2 separate regions of the Homo sapiens genome follow, and region 1 is linked to region 2. Evidence: promoter capture Hi-C in 16 types of primary human blood cells and fetal thymus (Javierre and others, 2016). All regions are on one chromosome and are shown on one strand. The core of a region is centred on a gene start or on the middle of the fragment in contact, and the rest is flanking DNA. Distances in the headings are between cores, read along the strand shown.

Region 1 (4,309 bases), core at 539-3,038, 41 kb after region 2:
TAAGGGCGCTGAGCAAACGTAGGTTTCCCGGCCTTAGTCCCTAGAGGAAACTGGAGATGGGCGGGCGGAGCCCCAGGGCGGGTCTGATGGGCCGGGCGGAGCCAGGCGGAGCAGGGACTGACCAGCCCCTGCGGCCCACGCTCGCATTCCTGCACCCGGTGGGCCGTTCGGGCTGGCTCCCTGCTCGGCGCTGGCCCACTTTGGACTGGAGGCGCGGCGTTCGGGACCGAGCCAGGCGGCCGGGGCAGGGTTGTCCCCTTGTGCTCAGCGGAGGCCCACGCACCCCTGAAGCTGCGGAACTTGGGCTGGCCTGACGGTCCCCAGGCGGGGCCTCACCAGAAGGGAGACTGTAAGGGCTAGGCAGCCGGGATCTGCACTTATGTGTGCGGGCCCAGGGTGGCACCGAGAGCCCCGTCCAGGATGTTTTTCTGGGTGGAGCTGGAAGTCCCGAAAGCCTTGGGAGCCCACACGCAGTTGTGCGCGTCCCGAAGTACCCAGCAGAGACACCCAGACAGAGGCAAATAGAGACGAACGCACACTGGCTGGTGCGTGTCATCCGTGTGGCAAAAGCACACACGTATAGCTACCGGCGGGCACGTGTGCGCGCAGCCCCAGTAAAGTCTGCCATGAATATTTATTGGGCAGTGGAAGAATAAATGACAGGTGCAGGGGCTGGAGGAGGCGGGGTCTGGAGGCACGGAGGCGTCCTTGGTCCCCGAGGTGGAGACACTGCTGTTGTCTTACGCGACTGGTGCGCGCGTGGGGCTGGCTTCACAGGCGTTGCATTACTCCTTTTGCCTTGACCCGCCTCCTAGAAGGGGTAGACCACCGTCCTTTCGTTGGTATTCGAGGCCCCCAGACTTCCCAGGGACCCAGCCTCTCAGTCCTGCCTGGCCCAGTTCAGCCCAGTCCTAGCTGGTGGTCTCCTAGCTCAGGGCAGGAGCCTCCTCCCGGGACCCCTCCCATCCCAGCACACCTGTGCTTAAGACCCCAACCTCAGGGCAACCCGCTCGGATCCCCTTCCATGCTGTGGAAGCTTTGTTCTTTTGCTCTTTGCAATAAATCTTGCTGCCGCTAAAAAAAAAACAAAAAACAAACAAACAAAAAAAACCCAACCTCGCCCAACCTTGCCCGTCTTTATCTGCGAAGAAAGCACAGAACCCATGAAACGGAACAGGGCCCAGGCAGCCCAGGAGCCTGGAAGGGGGCAGTGGGGCGAGATGCAGCCCACCAGGGTTCGCGGCAGCCCAGCCCTTCGCCCCCGGGAGGGGCTGGCCGGAGGTCTGAGGGAGGACCCCAGGAGGGACCCTGAAGGAGGGGAACAGGAAGGCTCTGGGCGGGACCTGACGCGTGGGTCCTTGGCGAGGAAGCGGGGTTGGGTCCCGAGATCACGTACCAGCTCAGAGTGGCCCTCACGCAGCCCGCTGCAGCCGTGCGGCCTCCTCCAACATGCGCATGTCGCGCAGCACGGCCACGACGAGCTCGGCTGCGTAGTCCTCGTAGTAGGAGGCGACCAGCTTGTCGGTGAGGTCCACGATATCTAGCTGCCCGAGCGCGCCCCGCGGGATGCGCTCAAAGCCCTCGCGCAGCGGCACCGTCCCCAGCTTCATCTTGAACTTCTTGAGCTCCTCCGGTGTCAGGTTCTCCAGCACCTTCAGGATGGCCTCGCGCTTCGTTCCCATGGCTCAGCCCTGCGCCTCTGAGCCTCCGAGGGCCTGGAGCCATCAGGTCCTACCTTTCCTGCAGCAGGTGGAGCTGCCGCCCCCGGGGATGTCCCGGGAAGGAGACTGATCTGGCAGCTCCTATTCAACCCTGTGGCTCCTGCTGGGAGGGGACTCTGCAAACACCGCCTAGAGGGTCCCCCAGTTTCCCCTGGGAGAGTGGGGGCGCCAAATTGTTGAGGTGGGGATTGCTGTTCCCAATCTGCAGAGGAGGAAACAGGTTGCAAGTCATTGAGGCAGGAATGGAACTGATTCCATGGTCAGGCACCTCCCAGCAAAGAAGTGGCTTTGTAGCCTGGCATGGTTGCTCATGCTTGTAGTGCCAGCTACTCGGGAGGCTGAAGCAAAAGGATTGCTTGAGCCTAGGAGTTCGAGTTGTGATTCTGCCACTGCACTCCAGCCTAGGCAATCCTGTCTCCAAAAAAAAAAAAAAAAAAAAAAAAAATGGCTTTGGCAGGAGTATTGGGAGCTCTCCTATATTTGCATATTTGCATTTGAGGTCTTGGGTAAGATCTAGACCACAGAATGGTTGGTCTGTGCAGGGGACATTTTTTTTTTTTTTTTTGAAATGCAGTCTTGCTCTGTCGCCCAGGCTAGAGTGCAGTGGCACATTCTTGGCTCACTGCAACCTCCGCCTCCCTGGTTCAAGTGATTCTCCTGCCTCAGCCTCCCGAGTAGCTGGGATTACAGGCACTTGCCACAGCGCCCAGGTAATTTTTGTATTTTTAGTAGAAATGGGGTTTCACTATCTTGGTCTGGCTGGCCTTGAACTCCTGACCTCGTGATCCACCCGCCCTGGCCTCCCAAAGTGCTGGGATTACAGGTGTGAGCCACCACGCCCGGCCAGCAGGGGACATTTTAATTAAATTTCCTGCCCCCTACTCCAAGCCCATGTGTGTACAGGCAGGCTGACTTGGTGGTCAGGCTGACAGGCTGACTGAGGCTGATGTTCTGCTTTTAAGTAAGAGAGGAAGCCCAGGAGTAGGGGTAGGTTGCCTTTCTTCTTTCATATATCCTTCATGTACCCCCTGAGGTCTGTTGTGTGCCAAGCTCTGTGCCTGCCTGTCTGGTGGGAGAGACCAAACCACACTGATGTTTGTCATCCTCGCAAAGACCTGTGCTATGGGGCTGACTGCTGAGCAGAGGGGATCAGGGAAGGCAAGGCCAGGGAGGGGTCAACAAAACAGACAAGGGGCTGGGGGTGTGGCGGTTCATGCCTGTAATCCCAGCATGCTGGGAGGCTGAGGTGGGAGGATTGCTTGAGGCCAGGAGTTGGAGACCAGTCTGGGCAATATAGTGAGATTGTCTCTACAAAAATATTTTAAAAAATCATGGCCAGGAGTGGTGGCTCATGTCTAATCCCAGCACTTCGGGAGGCTGACGTGGGTGGATCACCTGAGGTCAGAAGTTTGAGACCAGCCTGGCCAACATGGTGAAACCCTGTCTCTACTAAAAATACCAAAATTAGCCAGGCGTGGTGGTGCACCAAAATTAGTCCCAGCTACTTGGGAGGCTGAGGCAGGAGAATCGCTTGAACCCAGGAGGTGGAGGTTGCAGTGAGCTGAGATTGTGCCACTGCACTGCATCCTGGGTGACAGAGCGAGACTCCAACTCAAAAAAAAAAAAATCAGAAAATTTGCTGGGCACGGTGGTGTGTGCCTATAGTTCCAGCTACTTGGGAGACTGAAGTGAGAGGGTCAATTAAGCCTGGGAAGTTGAAGCTGTAGTTAACTGTGATCATGCCACTGCTCCAGCCAGGGCAACAGTGTGAGACCCTGTCTCAAAACAAAACACCAAAATAAATAAATAAAAAACCGCACCAAAATAGACAAGGGGCAGGGGAAGCATTCGGACCTCAGGAGTAGCACTGGCTGGGGCTGGGAGGCATGTAAGTGGGTTTGGGGATGGGAAGATGGCTGGAGGAGGAGCTGGCATTGAGGTTGAGCCACAGAGGGCAGGTTTAGGATGGGAGGTGTGGGTTTTGGGTGGGTGGCATCCCCATCACTTCTCCATGCCTCGACCCCCAGACACAGCTGCCACAGCAGAAACTGCAGCTGCAGGAGGCATGCATGCGCAAGGAGAAGAGTGTGGCTGTGCTGGAGCATCAGCTGGTGGAGGTGGAGGTGAGGACTTCACAGGGCCATGTCTGAGGGCTGGGGGCCAGGCTAGGGGTCTCCAGCCAAGAGTCTTTATCCCTTCAATCACTGCCCCATCCCTGCAGGAGACAGTGCGTCAGTTCCGGGGGGCCGTGGGGGAGCAGCTGGGCAAGATGCGGGTGTTCCTGGCTGCACTGGAGGGCTCCTTGGACCGCGAGGCAGAGCGTGTACGGGGTGAGGCAGGGGTCGCCTTGCGCCGGGAGCTGGGGAGCCTGAACTCTTACCTGGAGCAGCTGCGGCAGATGGAGAAGGTCCTGGAGGAGGTGGCGGACAAGCCGCAGACTGAGTTCCTCATGGTGAGCACTGGGTGACCCCCCTCCCTGCCTCAGCCCCCTGCTCAGGGCCCAGAGACCTCATCCCATTGTCAGATAGGCCCAGAGAGGGGCAGGGATAAGCCAGCAGCACACAGCCGGGAGGGGCAGGCCTCAGGAC
Region 2 (4,431 bases), core at 1,191-3,690:
GATTCCTTCCTCAGAAATAGGCTATGACTTGTTTTTCTTCTTCCAGAGATATTTTATGCATAAGTAAACACATATATATATATATCCCTAACTGTTCTCCTTCTCTTTTTCTTTTTTCTTTTTTTTTTTTGTGACAGGGTCTCACTCTGCTGTTCAGGCTGGAGTACAGTGGCACAGTCATAGCTCACTGCAGCCTTGACCTCTTGGATAGTACCCCACCCCCCTGCCCCAGACTCAGCCTCCCAAGTAGCTGGGACCACAGTCACACACCACCAAACCCAGATCATTTTTAATTTTTTTGTAGAGACAGGGTCTCACTATGTTATTAAATGATCCTCCTGCCTCGGCCTCCCAAAGTGCTGGCATTACAGGAATGAACCACTGAGCCTGGCCCTCTTTCTTTTTTAGAAACCCAAATAGAGGCCGGGCACAGTGGCTCACGCCTGTAATCCCAGCAATTTGGGAGGCTGAGGCGGGTGGATCACGAGGTCAGGACATTGGGACCATCCTGACAAACATGGTGAAACCCTATCTCTACTAAAAATAAAAATACAAAAAAATTAGCTAAGCGTGGTGGCGGGCGCCTGTAGTCCCAGCTACTCTGGAGGCTGAGGCAGGAGAATCGCTTGAACCCGGGAGGCGTAGCTTGCAGTGAGCCGAGATCGTGCCACTGCACTCCAGCCTGGGTGATAGAGCGAGACTACGTCTCAAAAAAAAAAAAAAAACAAAAACCCAAATAGAGGCTGGGCATGGTGGTGCAGGCCTGTAGTCCCAGATGCTGGTAAGGCCAAATTTGGAGGATTGCTTGAACCCAGGAATTTGAGGCTGCAGTGAGCTTTGATTGCACCACTGCACTCCAGCCTGGGTGACAGATTGAGATCCTAACTCAAAAGAAAAAAAAAAGGAGGCCAGGCATGGTGGCTCACGCCTGTAATCCCAGCGCTTGGGAGGCCAAGGCAGGCAGATCATGAGGTCAGGAGTTCGAGATCAGCCTGGCCAACATGGTGAAACCCCATCTCTACTAAACGTACAAAAATTAGTTGGGCGTAGGGGCACGTGCCTATAATCCCAGCTACTCGGGAGCCTGAGGCAGGAGAATTGCTTGAACCTGGGAGGCGGAGGTTGCAGTGAGCCGAGATCGCGCCACTGCACTCCAGCCTGGGTGACAGAGCAAGACTCAATCTCAAAAAAAAAAAAAAAGGCCGCTGTCATCACCACCGAGACCAAGAAGGCCACGAGACTCAGCACCTTCCTCAAGATTTCCTGGGCCAAGGAGCCAGTGCTGGTCTTGTCCTCTGTCATCCGGAGCCTCACTGTAATTCTACCCCCACTTAGTCCCCACACCAAGTACTCCATCATGATCAACGAGGCAAGGCCCTACAACTACCCAGTGCCTGTCTGCAATGATGGGAACATGCCCGATGTGCCCAGCCACCCCCAGGACCCCCAAGGCCCCAGTTTGGAGTGGCTGAAGAAATTGTGAGCACCTCCACTGCCAAAGGAGGACCCTCCCATGGCTCCCACTAGAAATGTGAAAACCAACCTCTCCCTGCTCAAAAAAAAAAGAAAAGAAAAAGAAAAATTGCATTAAATATTTGATCTAGGCCAGGCGCAGTGGCTCATGCCTGTAACTGTAACTCTAGCACTTTGGGAGGCCGAGGCAGGAAGATTGCTTGAGGCCAGGGGTTCAAGACAAAACTGGCCAACAAAATGAGACCTTGTCTTTAAAAAATAAATTCTGGGGCTGGGCGCAGTGGCTCATGCTTGTAACAGCACTTTGGGAGGCCGAGGAGGGGTGGATCACGAGGTCAGGTGTTTGAGACCAGCCTGGCCAACATAGTGAAACCCCGTCTCTACTAAAAAAAAATACAAAAAATTAGCCAGGCGTGGTGGCGGGTGCCTGTAATCCCAGCTACTTGGAGGCTGAGGCAGGAGAATCGCTTGAACCTGGGAGGCAGATATTGCAGTGAGCCGAGATCGCGCCATTGCACTCCAGCCCAGGCAACAGTGCGAGACTCCATCTCAAACAAATATATATAAATATAAATAAATATATATATATATGTAACTTCCTGGCACGATGGCACAGACCTGTAATCCCAGCACTTTGGGAGGCCGAGGCGCGTGGATCAGGAGGTCAGGAATTCAAGACCAGCCTGGCCAAGATGGTGAAACCCTGTTTCTACTAAAAATACAAAAAATTAGCCAGGCGTAATGGTGGGAGCTTGTAATCCCAGATACTCGGGAGGCTGAGGCAGAGAACTGCAAACTCCGGAGGCGGAGGTTGCAGTGAGCTGAGATTGTGCCACTGCACTCCAGCCTGGGTGACAGAGGGAGACTCTGTCTCAAAAAAACAAACAAAAAAATTAAATAAATAAATTAAAACTAACTAACTAAATAAATATCTGGATATCTGAGCTGGGTGCAGTGGCTCATGCCTCTAATCCCAGCACTTGGGAAAGCAAGGCAGGCAGATCATTTGAGGTCAGGAGTTCGAGACCAGCCTGGCCAACATAGGGAAACCTCATCTCTACTAAAAAAATTAGTTGGGTGTGGTGGTGCACATCTGTAATCCCAGGTACTCAGGAGGCTGAGGCAGGAGAATTGCTGGAACCTGGGAAGTAGAGGTTGCAGTCAGCTGAGATTGCAGCACTGCTCTCCAGCCTGGGTGACAGAGTGAGACTCTGTCTCAAAAAAAAATCAATATCTGATATACGTGTTTATTTTTTTATTGAGATGGAGTCTTGCTCTGTCGCCCAGGCTGGAGTGCAATGGCACAATCTCTGCTCACCGCAACCTCTGCCTCCCTGGCTCAAGCAATTCTCCTGCCTCAACCTCCCGAGTAGCTGGGACTACAGATGCGCGCCACCATGCCCGGCCAATTTCTGTATCTCTAGTAGAGATGGGGTTTCACCAGGTCGGTCAGGCTGGTCTCGAACTCCTGACCTCATGATCTGCCCACCTCAGCCTCCCAAAGTGCTGGGATTACAGGTGTGAGCGAACGCATCTGGCCCAATATCTGATATACATGTTAATTGAAACTGGGTGTGGTGGTCACACCTTTAATCACAGCACTTTGGGAGGATTCCCTTGAGCCTAGGAGTTCAAGACCAGCCTGGGCAACATAGCAAGACCCTGTCTCAAAAAAGAAAAATTTAACATTGACTTTCCTGTCAGAGATAGGAAGTAAATAAGACATTTATGGTGAACTTAAAGCACATATGGCAGCTAAAGGTGACAGTGTCTCACTCCAGCTGACCCTTGCCCTATGGAAGTGGGCCTGGAATGGCCCACTATTTTTAGTGTTGGCAACTAGTTAAAAAAATTAAAACATTCGAGGCAGGTGGATCACTTGAGATCAGGAGTTCGAGAACAGCCTGGGCAATATGGTGAAACCCCGTCTCTACTAAAAATAGGAAAATTAGCTGGACATGGTGATGCATGCCTGTAATCTCAGCTACTCGGGAGGCTGCAGCACAAGAATTGCTTGAACCCGGGAGGCAGAGGTTGCAGTGAGCTGAGATCACGTCACTGCACTCCAGCCTGGGTGACAGAGTGAGACTCCATCTCAAAAAAAAAAAAAAAAGAAAGAAAGAAATGGCCATTTGATTTAGTCTTTCAGAGTCACATATTTTTTTTTTTTTGAGGCCGAGTCTCATCTGCCACCATGCCCAGCCCAGAGTCACAGCTGGAGCCTGAACTCTGCCTCAGTGTCTTCCCCACTTGTGCCTTTGTCTTCGCGGTTCTGCCTATTATAGCCTTTCCTCCCTTGCTGCTTGGCAAACTTCTACTTATCCAGTAAGCCTTGGCTTCAGGGTTACCATCTCTCTTTAGTGTTCTGTGGTTGTCCACCTGATGGATGACTTACTCTGCTGGCAGGGTTTCCAGTCTTTGATTCCATGTGATGGCACTTACTACACTCAAGTACACTTTGTGGTCTGTGTGTCTCACCCACATTCACCCACTGGCTGGTCCTGTGGTTTAGGAACTGAGCTTTTTTTTATCCATATCCATCCAGTCGGCCCCATGATTGGAACATACTATGCAGTGCTCAGGCAATGTTTGCTGAAGCGCAGGGGTTAAGAGCAGGCTACCTGGCTTGGGAACCCAGCTTTGCCACTTCCTGTGTAGCTTCAGCATAACTTTCCGTCTTTCTTTTTTTTTAGAGACAGAGTCTTGCTCTACTCTATCATCCAGGCTGCAGTGCAGTGGCGCGATCTCGGCTCACTGCAACCTCTGCCTCCGGGGTTCAAGCAATTCTCCTGCCTCAGCCTCCTGAGTAGCTGGGACTACAGGTGCGCGCCACTATGCCTGGCTAATGTTTGTATTTTTAGTAGAGACGGGGTTTCACCATGTTGGTCAGGCTGGTCTCGAACTCCTGACGTTGTGATCTGCCCTCCTTGGCCTCCCAAAGTGCTGGGATTACAGGCG

Evidence for each region. The method cuts DNA at HindIII sites, captures the fragments that hold promoters and counts their contacts. A CHiCAGO score of 5 or more calls a contact.
Region 1: a contact is called between the fragment with the promoter of PYDC1 here and a fragment that was not itself captured in region 2, in 2 of 17 cell types (monocytes and M0 macrophages). The highest score is 6.2, in monocytes.

What each region holds. Positions count from the first base shown.
Region 1 is chr16:31,215,347-31,219,655 of GRCh38, forward strand. It overlaps PYDC1 (pyrin domain containing 1), which reads right to left and starts at 1,789. Exons shown (of 2, transcript NM_152901.4): 1 at 1,397-1,789; 2 at 616-811. The coding sequence starts at 1,682. The coding sequence ends at 1,413. TRIM72 (tripartite motif containing 72) reads left to right here. Exons shown (of 7, transcript NM_001008274.4): 3 at 3,749-3,844; 4 at 3,943-4,173. RefSeq lists enhancers at 1-94, 1,010-1,924. The HindIII fragment of the contact is 8,417 bases long and covers 1,035-4,309 here.
Region 2 is chr16:31,173,342-31,177,772 of GRCh38, forward strand. It overlaps the pseudogene NDUFA3P6. Among named protein-coding and RNA genes, the nearest start is that of FUS, 4.6 kb to the right of the region's middle. The HindIII fragment of the contact is 8,665 bases long and covers 1-4,431 here.